Regions from separate parts of the Homo sapiens genome. Here region 1 is linked to region 2. The links are contacts of gene promoters, found by promoter capture Hi-C in blood cells and fetal thymus (Javierre and others, 2016). All regions are on one chromosome and are shown on one strand. The core of a region is centred on a gene start or on the middle of the fragment in contact, and the rest is flanking DNA. Distances in the headings are between cores, read along the strand shown.

What was found. Contacts are between HindIII fragments. The CHiCAGO score rates a contact against its expected background, and 5 or more counts as called.
Region 1: the fragment with the promoter of PI4KA here is called in contact with the fragment with the promoter of CLTCL1 in region 2 in 5 of 17 cell types (activated CD4 T cells, total CD4 T cells, fetal thymus and 2 more); the score reaches 7.9 in activated CD4 T cells.

Annotation. Positions count from the first base shown.
Region 1 is chr22:20,856,178-20,860,404 of GRCh38, reverse strand. It overlaps PI4KA (phosphatidylinositol 4-kinase alpha), which reads left to right and starts at 1,594. Exons shown (of 55, transcript NM_058004.4): 1 at 1,594-1,835. The coding sequence starts at 1,680. It overlaps SNAP29 (synaptosome associated protein 29), which reads right to left and starts at 1,398. Exons shown (of 5, transcript NM_004782.4): 1 at 1,058-1,398. The coding sequence starts at 1,294. RefSeq lists an enhancer at 667-1,476 and silencers at 1,156-1,915, 1,936-1,985. The HindIII fragment of the contact is 10,120 bases long and covers 1-4,227 here.
Region 2 is chr22:19,289,959-19,294,213 of GRCh38, reverse strand. CLTCL1 (clathrin heavy chain like 1) reads left to right here and starts at 2,495. Exons shown (of 33, transcript NM_007098.4): 1 at 2,495-2,614. The coding sequence starts at 2,573. It overlaps LOC105372859 (a long non-coding RNA gene), which reads right to left and starts at 2,267. Exons shown (of 6, transcript XR_938002.3): 1 at 1,884-2,267. RefSeq lists silencers at 2,377-2,616, 2,498-2,682 and an enhancer at 2,793-3,306. The HindIII fragment of the contact is 6,040 bases long and covers 1-3,972 here.

The DNA.
Region 1 (4,227 bases), core at 345-2,844, 1.6 Mb before region 2:
GAGCGAGATTCCATCTCAAAAAAAAAAAAAAAAGAAAAAGAAAAAGACCCTCCAGGATCTCGGTCTGTTGCCCATGCTGGAGTGCAGCAGCACGATCTCAGCTAACTGCAACCTCTGCCTCCCGGGTACAAGCGATTCTCCTACCTCAGCCTCCTGAGTAGCTGCGACTACAGGCGCACCGCCACACCCGGCTAGTTTTTTTTTTTTTTTAATTTTAGTGGAGACAGGGTTTCACCATGTTGCCCAGGCGGGTCTCGAACTCCTGAGCTCAGGCGATCCGACGCCTAGGCCTCCCAAAGTGCTGGGATTACAGGCGTGAGTCACTGCGCTCGGCCAGAATAATTGTTATTGAAGGTACTACTCTCTGAAATCTAAGGATGGGAAGAACTGATGAAGATGAGTTGGAGCAACAAACTCTTAACCCGCACACTATTTGTCTAGGATTTGGGAAGTAAAGGTAAGACCCTGGACTCAATCAAACCCAGGCTTTGGTCAACTAGGCAGCTGTCTGGGCTGAAGGGACTTCAATACCTCTATTGGTTGGTTAGGTGGAGATGTCAATGATGCGGGAAGAACTCGTGGACCACCTGCCCTGATGCTTCAGGGTATCACCTGACACTCGCAGGCACATAGTCCTCTCTTTCTGGCTCACTCCGGAAGGAATGGCCAAAACCCTGTGCCAGATTTTGCACAGGAAATAATGTCGAAGAAACGGACTCTCCATTTCCCAAACCTAGGACCTGCTGTTCAGAATTTTTACTCACCTGGACAGAAAATAATCTGGCGTTTCCCCGTGAGCTAGGCGTAAGAAAAAAAAAATCAACGAAGCAGACTAATAGCTAAGGAAGATTTCTGGGGTAAACTGCCCTCTTCAAGTACTCCAGATGCACATACCTTTACATAGTTAACAGATTGTTACCACCATCGAGTCACTAAGGTGCAAGAATCTATGCTAGGCAACTTGAGAATTCTCAAAAGATTGTGAGCAAAACATTTCTCGTCTCCGTTTGACAGCACAGAGACCGGCGAGTCCACACCAGCCCTGCCCCAGGCTCACCTCGGAAGAGGCGACCCCAACCTTCTCGGACTCGTACATGAGGGCCAGGGACCTGCTGGTGCTGGCGGCCGTGGCCTCAGCCCTGCGGAGGACCTCCTGCCGCAAGTACTGCTGCCTGTCCGCGGGCGCGTCGGGCCCGTCGGGGAGGTCTCGGGCGTCCCTCCAAGGGGCCGGCCGGGCGCCTTCGTCCTCCCCGTCGTCGTCGAACGGATTGTAGCTTTTAGGGTAAGCTGACATGGTGCCGGCGCGGCTCTCGGTCTGGGAAACAGAAGGAGGAGCCCCACTGCCGCCGCCGTCCAGGGCCTCGCCCCGCCCGCCGACCCCGCGGTCGTCGCGCGAACTCCTTCCGCGCGTCGCGCGCAGGTGGCCCCGCCCTCGGAGCCGACCATCGCGCAGGTCGGCTGGGGGGGGCCCACATCCGGCGCGCGCAACCGCAGCCTACTGTCCATCCCCTCTCTCCCCTGCAGCGGTGGGCCCGCCCCGCAGCCACGCCCTATCTAGTGTCAGCAACTGAGAGGTCACGTGGCGGGAAAGCCGGATGCACCTACGCCTGCGCCCTGAGGTCGGGCGCTCGCGGGCCAGGAGCGGGGAGCCGGCGGGCAGCGCCGCGGCTCGTGAGGTGATGGCGGCGGCCCCGGCCCGGGGAGGCGGAGGCGGAGGCGGAGGCGGCGGCGGCTGCTCCGGCTCCGGCTCCAGCGCCTCGCGGGGCTTCTATTTCAACACGGTCCTGTCACTGGCCCGCTCCCTGGCGGTGCAGAGACCAGCATCCTTGGAGAAGGTAACGTCGGCGGGCTGGGCCGCGGGCTGACAGGAGGAGGGGCTGGGGTGACGAAGCGTGGAGGCGGGACGAGGGTCTGTGGGAGGCCGAGGCTGGGCTCGCCGGCAGCCTGTGCGGGAGGGGGCGCCTGAGCGGAGGGATCTAGCGGGGGAAGGAGGCCCTAGTGGGAGGGGCTGGTGAAGAGAGAGGGACCGTGGGGGAAGGGTCGGCGGGGCCTGCAGGGCCGCTGCAGGTGGGTGGTTGTGGGATGGGGGTGGGGGATGTGAGCTGCTGGCCCAGGGAGCATCTTGTGACATCGCGGAGGTGGAGGCTGGATCGTGGGCGGCTGTGCGGAGCAGTGGGATGAGCCGAGGACCAGGGGTCAAGACCTGGGGTTCTGCTTCCGATTTCACCTGCTTTTTATTCCGCGACCTTGGGAAGATGGCTTTCTTGTAAAATGGGGATGCTTTTATCTGCTTTGCCGGCTTCACCGGACTGTGGTGACCAGGAGACGAAACACTGTCTTGAAAGTGCTTTGTGACTGTAAACCAACTGCGCAGTGTTATTCTACGAGGCTGGGGGCGTTAGGTTGGGTAAAAGATTGTGCGTTTGCAGAAGGGACAGTGGCAGGGAAAGGAGAGTGAACTGTCAGTGGGCAGAGAAGTGAACTTGGAATTGCTTCAGAAGAGAAAGGTGAAGTCATGCCAGAGCAATCCTCATCTTGGGAGAAAGGTGAAAGGCAACTCAGTGGTGTGCCTTGAGATCTGGAAAGAGACAGATTTTAGAGTGGGACCTGAATTTGTTCCCTGCACTGGCACTTACTTACCATGTCCTCTTGGGTAAATTTAACTCTTAGAGCCTCTGTATCCTTATCTGTAAAATGAGGTTGTTCTTGAGAATTAAATGAGTTCTAGCATAAAGCATCTTGCACAGGTCAAGGCACAGAGTGGGTGAGCAGTAAATGTCAACTTTCTTTGCCCACCCGTGTGCGATGAGACTCAGCACAGTGTTTAGCTCTGAAAGGATGGAATTATTTTCCCACTCAACTTTTTGGCACATGGAGAGAGGATGTTTTCCGACAAGATAAGACAGTGGTGACCGGAGACCAGCCTGCTGCAGTTGGGAGTGGTTTTGTGGCTGTCTGCTGATGGATGAAGCTGAAAGGCTGTTTTAGGCACTTTTGGCAGAGTGACCTGGTCCTTGGCCTTGTCGGTTCTCATATTTGATTTTATCATGCACCTTCGGGGTGAGAAGGTCCCGGCAGATTGGTGCTAACCTGACTTCTAGCTAAAGAGGGAGTACAATGCAATGGAAAGGACATGAGTTTGGAAAATGGAACCTCTGAATTTAAATCCTGTATCACTTGCTTTCACTAGTGTGACTCTAGACAGGTCAGTTCCCTTCTCTGATACTTTGCTATCTTCTGTCAAATACAAGGTAGTACTTCATAGGAGTATTGTGAAGAGCAACAAAAAGGCACGTGGGTACCTAATGTATGAGCACTGTTATCATTAGATAGTCTGACTAATGGAGTGTAGTGCTGTTTTATTGAATCAAACTCATGCTAGCTAGTCAGCACATTCGCTTCTTAGCAGGAGAGCCAACAAATATATCTTATGACTGATTGCTGGATTCTGGGAGGAGAGAGAAGAGAATGCAGTGAATTGGATGATCTTTAAGAAGCTGGTCCTGCAGCTCCAGCAGTGGTAGCACCCTTTCCACTCAGTAACTCAGAAAAGGGCACCTTGAGCTCAATTTGCTTCTTCAGCCATGTTCACTAGTCACGAGAACATTCTGTAATTGCAACATTCTTAGCTTTGTAGTAATAACTGCTTCAGTTGTCAAGATTATATTTTATGATGGGGCACGGTGGCTCATGCCTGTAATCCCAGCACTTTGGGAGGCTGAGACAGGCAGATCACTTGAGGTCGGAGTTTGAGACCAGCCTGGCCAACATGGTGAAACCCTGTCTCTGCTAAAAACCCAACATTAGCCAGGTGTGGTGGCACGTGCCTCTAATCCCAGCTACTTGGGAGGCTGAGGCAGGAGAATCGCTTGAACCTGAGAGGCAGAGGTTGCAGTGAGCCAAGATTGCGCCATTGCACTTCAGCCTGGGTGACAAGAGCAAAACTGTCTCAAAAAAAAAAAAAAAAGAAAAAGATTATATTTTACAAGGAACACAGCCATAGCCACAGGTTGGCAGCTCCCTAATGCCACTTACTTTAGGAAGTACTTCAGTCTCATTGGCAACATTTACCAATCACTTTTTTGGTTTTTTTGAGAGGGAGTCTCGCTCTGTTGCCCAGGCTGGAGTGCAGTGGTGAGATCTCGGCTCACTGCAACCTCTGCCTCTCAGTTTCAAGCTATTTTTCCACTGTAGCCTCCTGAGTAGCTGGGACTACAGGCGTGTGCC
Region 2 (4,255 bases), core at 1,246-3,745:
CACCTCCTCAGAGATCTGAATTCCAGCTCTGCAAGCCCTTCCTTTAAGCTGTAATAATTCCAGCTTCTCTTTCATCTTTGAGCTCTAGGGGTGGTAGCTGTGTCCTATGTTTGTAACTCCATATCTTGGGATTTTCTTTTTATTATTTTAAATTTACTTCCTGTTAACTATTGTTTATATTCAGTTCCCTTTGTTTAAATAACTGATGCACTTTCTCTCTCTTCTGTGGTTTGAAGGTTTGTGTCCCCTTCAAAATTAATGTTGAAACTTAATCCCGGGCCAGGCGCGGTGGCTCACACCTGTAATCCCAGCACTTTGGAAGGCCGAGGTGGATGGATCACCTGAGGCCAGGAGTTTGAGACCAGCCTGGTCAACATGGTGAGACCCTGTCTCTACTAAAAATGAAAAATTAGCCAGGTGCGGTGGCGTGCGCCTGTAGTCCCAGCTACTTGGGAGGCTGAGGCAGGAGAATGGCTGGAACCTGAGAGGCAGAGGTTGCAGTGAGCAGAGATCGTGCCACTGCACACCAGCCTGGGCGACAGAGCGAGACTCTTGTCTCAAAAAAAAAAAAAAAAAAAAAAGAATTGAAAGGTTTTTTTAGGGTTACTTAGCAAGTTACCTACAAGTGGTGAGAATATTAAAGTCCCTTTCAAGTCAGAACATTTAATTTTTTTACAAGTATATTAACAACTTTATTTCCTGTTAACTACAACTATCACTTATATTCACTTCTGTCTATTCAAATAACTGTTGTGCTTTCTGTCTCTTCTATGGTTTGAAGAGACAGAAAGATTTGTGTCTCCTCTAAAATTAATGTTGAAACTTAATCCCCACTTGAGGTCCCGACGTATTAACAATCCTGTCACTTTGCTTAACTATGATTTTCTTAAATTCTTTCTTTTAGGGTATAAAATTTTAGTTTTAATCCCCAAAAAGCCCTGGGGAAGGTGATTTAGGGAGTGATGGTATTAATTACTAAAAAATTTATATAATGTTTGGGGTAAAGGGTACTTGGAGTCACAGGCATCATTGCCAAAATAAAGAGATTTGGGAAATGTAGTACTAACCACAGCAAAACCCAGCTCTATATTTAGCGGATGAGGCCACATGGATTTTAGAAAGGGCGGGCTGCAGAGGTCTTGGCTAATACTGGAAAAGAGATTTAATTTGAAAGTGAACAGTCTGTTCTATTCCTTAACATATTTTTGGCTACTAGATGGTCAAGCCATTGCGCAAATAATTGCACCATCCTTGTCTTATTCAAGGTGGGCCGTTCATTTCTTAAAATTACCAGTGAGCAACATGGGAAGCAGCAGAGACGGCTATCGATTACCCCGTAGGGAGTGCCTGTGCTGAATGCCAAGGGCTTCCCTTTCCTGACAGACATCTTTTATGCAGCTGAATCATCTGTATGCAAAACATCAGCCAACGGTGCCTCGGAAAAACAACTGGCTGCTGGGCAAACCAGGTGTGGGCTCCAGCTTCCACCTGCTACTACTGTCGTGCAGCCACGGGCACTCTGGGTGATCCTCACTGGCCTGGGGCTGGTCATCTGCTGCTAGATGACCTTCGCTGACTCTCTACATTGATATTCCGACACAGTGTTCTCTAGAAACCGCATGAGCCAGGAAAGGTGTTTCCTAAAGGAGCAGGGGCCGAGCCTCACGCCGAAACACGTCTGTAACACGTACAGTCACGCGTCCCATGCATCCATGCATTCTGAGACATGCGTCTCGGTTGTGGGATCATCACAAGGTAACTTACACAAACTCAGATGGCACAGCCACTACACAACTAGGCAGCTGATGCGGTCCGCTGCTGCTAGGCCGCAAACCCGCACCGCGTGTGAGGTGCGTTATTCCCCTGGCACGGTAATGACATACCTGTACGTGTATCTCCAAATACAGGAGAGGAAATGTCCTTAGCTAAGCCCTCACCAGAGGACAGGAAGTTTCCAGCTCCGTTATCATGTTATGGGACCACCGTCATATACACGGTCCTCCTCAGACCAAAAGGTCGTTCGTTATACGGCACATGTGGTTCTTCCAAGACCCTTTTCCATCTTTCTGTCACATCCGTGCCTGAGTAAAAAGTGGCCCTGAACTCAACCGTCCAGAGTTGGCGGCAGAACTAGCACCACTGGCCCGCTCCACATGTGGAAGGCGCTGGGCAAGGGCCGCCGCAGACCCCATCAGGATTAATCCCCCGAAAACCTTTCACTCGGGTAGCTGGCACACACCGCGTCAGGGCAGAGGGCGCGCGGGACTACTTTCCGCGGACCCTCGGAGCGGGCGGAGGGATCCGCGCAGGCGGGACGGGGCAGAGGCGGGGGCAGGGGCGGGGGCAGGGGCGGGGGCAGGGGCGGGGCAGAGGCGGGGCAGGGGCGGGGCAGGGGCGGGGGAAGGGGCGGGGAAAGGGGGTGCGGGCCGGGGCGCGGTCAGGGAGGAGGGCGGGGGCCAGGACCGGGAGCTCGGGGCACTGCGCCTGCGCCGTCGCCACCGGTCAGCCCGCGCGAGGGGTCGGCGTTCATTCCTGCCGCTGCCGCCGCCGCCGCCGAGGTCCCGCACCAGCCATGGCGCAGATCCTCCCTGTTCGCTTTCAGGAGCACTTCCAGGTGAGGCCCGGCGGGCTGGGGGGCTGCCCTGTCAGCCGCGCCTCCGCCGGGCCGGACTGCCAGGCTTGACCCCGCGCCCCCAGCCCCGCTGAGCCGCTGCCCAGCTGGCCGCGCCGATTTCCGACCTCCCACCTGGGCTGGGGCTGCGGCGTCCCGGGCGCGGCGGCCGCTCCTGAGGACCCGCTTGGGTGCCGTCGCCGAAGCCCGTTACCGGCGGGGCCGGCTGGGGAATGGTGGGGGTGGAAGCCAACGCCCCCTGGGACGCCCCGCTCAGTGCCCGCGAGGAGGCACACAAATTCCCGCTGCAGGCAGGGCAACCCAAGGGCCGCGCGGATCCCACAGCTCCACGCCCCTCCTTGGCGTCCTGCGGTCCTTATTCGCCCCTGAGTTTGCCTCTGTGATCGGTTTTCGTCCCCAGGGCGGCTTCGCCTGGGAGGACCGTGAACATGCGTGACCCAAGAGAAAAATTTCTCAGGGCCAAGCCTAAATAGGGCTTTTCAATGCAGTAACACCCCCAAAGCCTGCCTTTTTAATAAGGTCCCAGTTTGTTCTCCATTTGTTTGTGTTCAGAAACATAAGGACTGGCCCCCTGCTTTGAGCAAAGGCTCAGGTCGGGCGTCGTGCGGGCCGCTCGCGGGTCTGCCCGGGAGCGGTGCTGGTCCCCACGTTTACCCTGGGAGGTGCGGCAGAGGAGGGATAGCCAGCGGCTCCTCCCTGAGTGCTCTGTGTTAAATCATCACACTACCATTCGTTGCGATTCGCTTACTCTTTTCTAGATGAGGAAACCGAGTCTCAAAAGTGTTAAAGAACTCATCTTCATTCAATAAGAACAGGATTCAGACTCAAGTCTTTTTGACCACAAAGTAGTACATCGAGGAACGTGCTTGCTTGAAAGTTCCTATTTTCACAGTGCAGAGCACTGTTAGCCCTAGATGCAGACGGGAAAAGCCTTGGGAACTGTGTAGTGCAGTCCAGTCCCCTCATTCTGCAGACTGGAAACTTGATATCCAGGGGATCCTGCCAGGGTCACTTGGTTAGTGACACAGTGGAAGTTGTATGGAGGTGGGAGTGCCCTGACATCTGTCCGGGCTTCATTCTGCCACTAAGCTAAGCCAGCACCAGTCATGTTGAGGTAGCAAAATACTGCTGCTGCTCATAATAATGATGATGATGTAGTTATCATTTACTGAGCCGTTTCTCTTGCCACTCACTAGACTACTGTATTTTATAAATCTGGTTTAATTTAATCCTCATGATAACTGAGGCAGATAGTGATATCCTGTTTTCTACCATGGGTCACTGAGGTTAATATTCTAATTCCTTCAGCAAAAGTTACATGGCTAGTAAGTGACAAAGCTTGAGTTCTAACCCAGGTCTGATTCCAATGCCTGTGCTTAACCACTATCTAAATATGTTCTTTTCAAAGGGCAAGAAAGCAACAAGATATTTTAGGTGTCCATCAGAGTTTCTAATGTCCATCAGGATTTGTAATGTCCATCAGAGTTGATATGTTCCATTATCTGGAAAATGCTTGTGGCTTGTGGTGGGCAGCCACGTGAATGCAAGTCTGGTTTGTGGTCTCTAACACTGACTGGGTCTTTGAGGCTGCTGTGCATTCTGTAGAGCAAACACTGAGTCAGC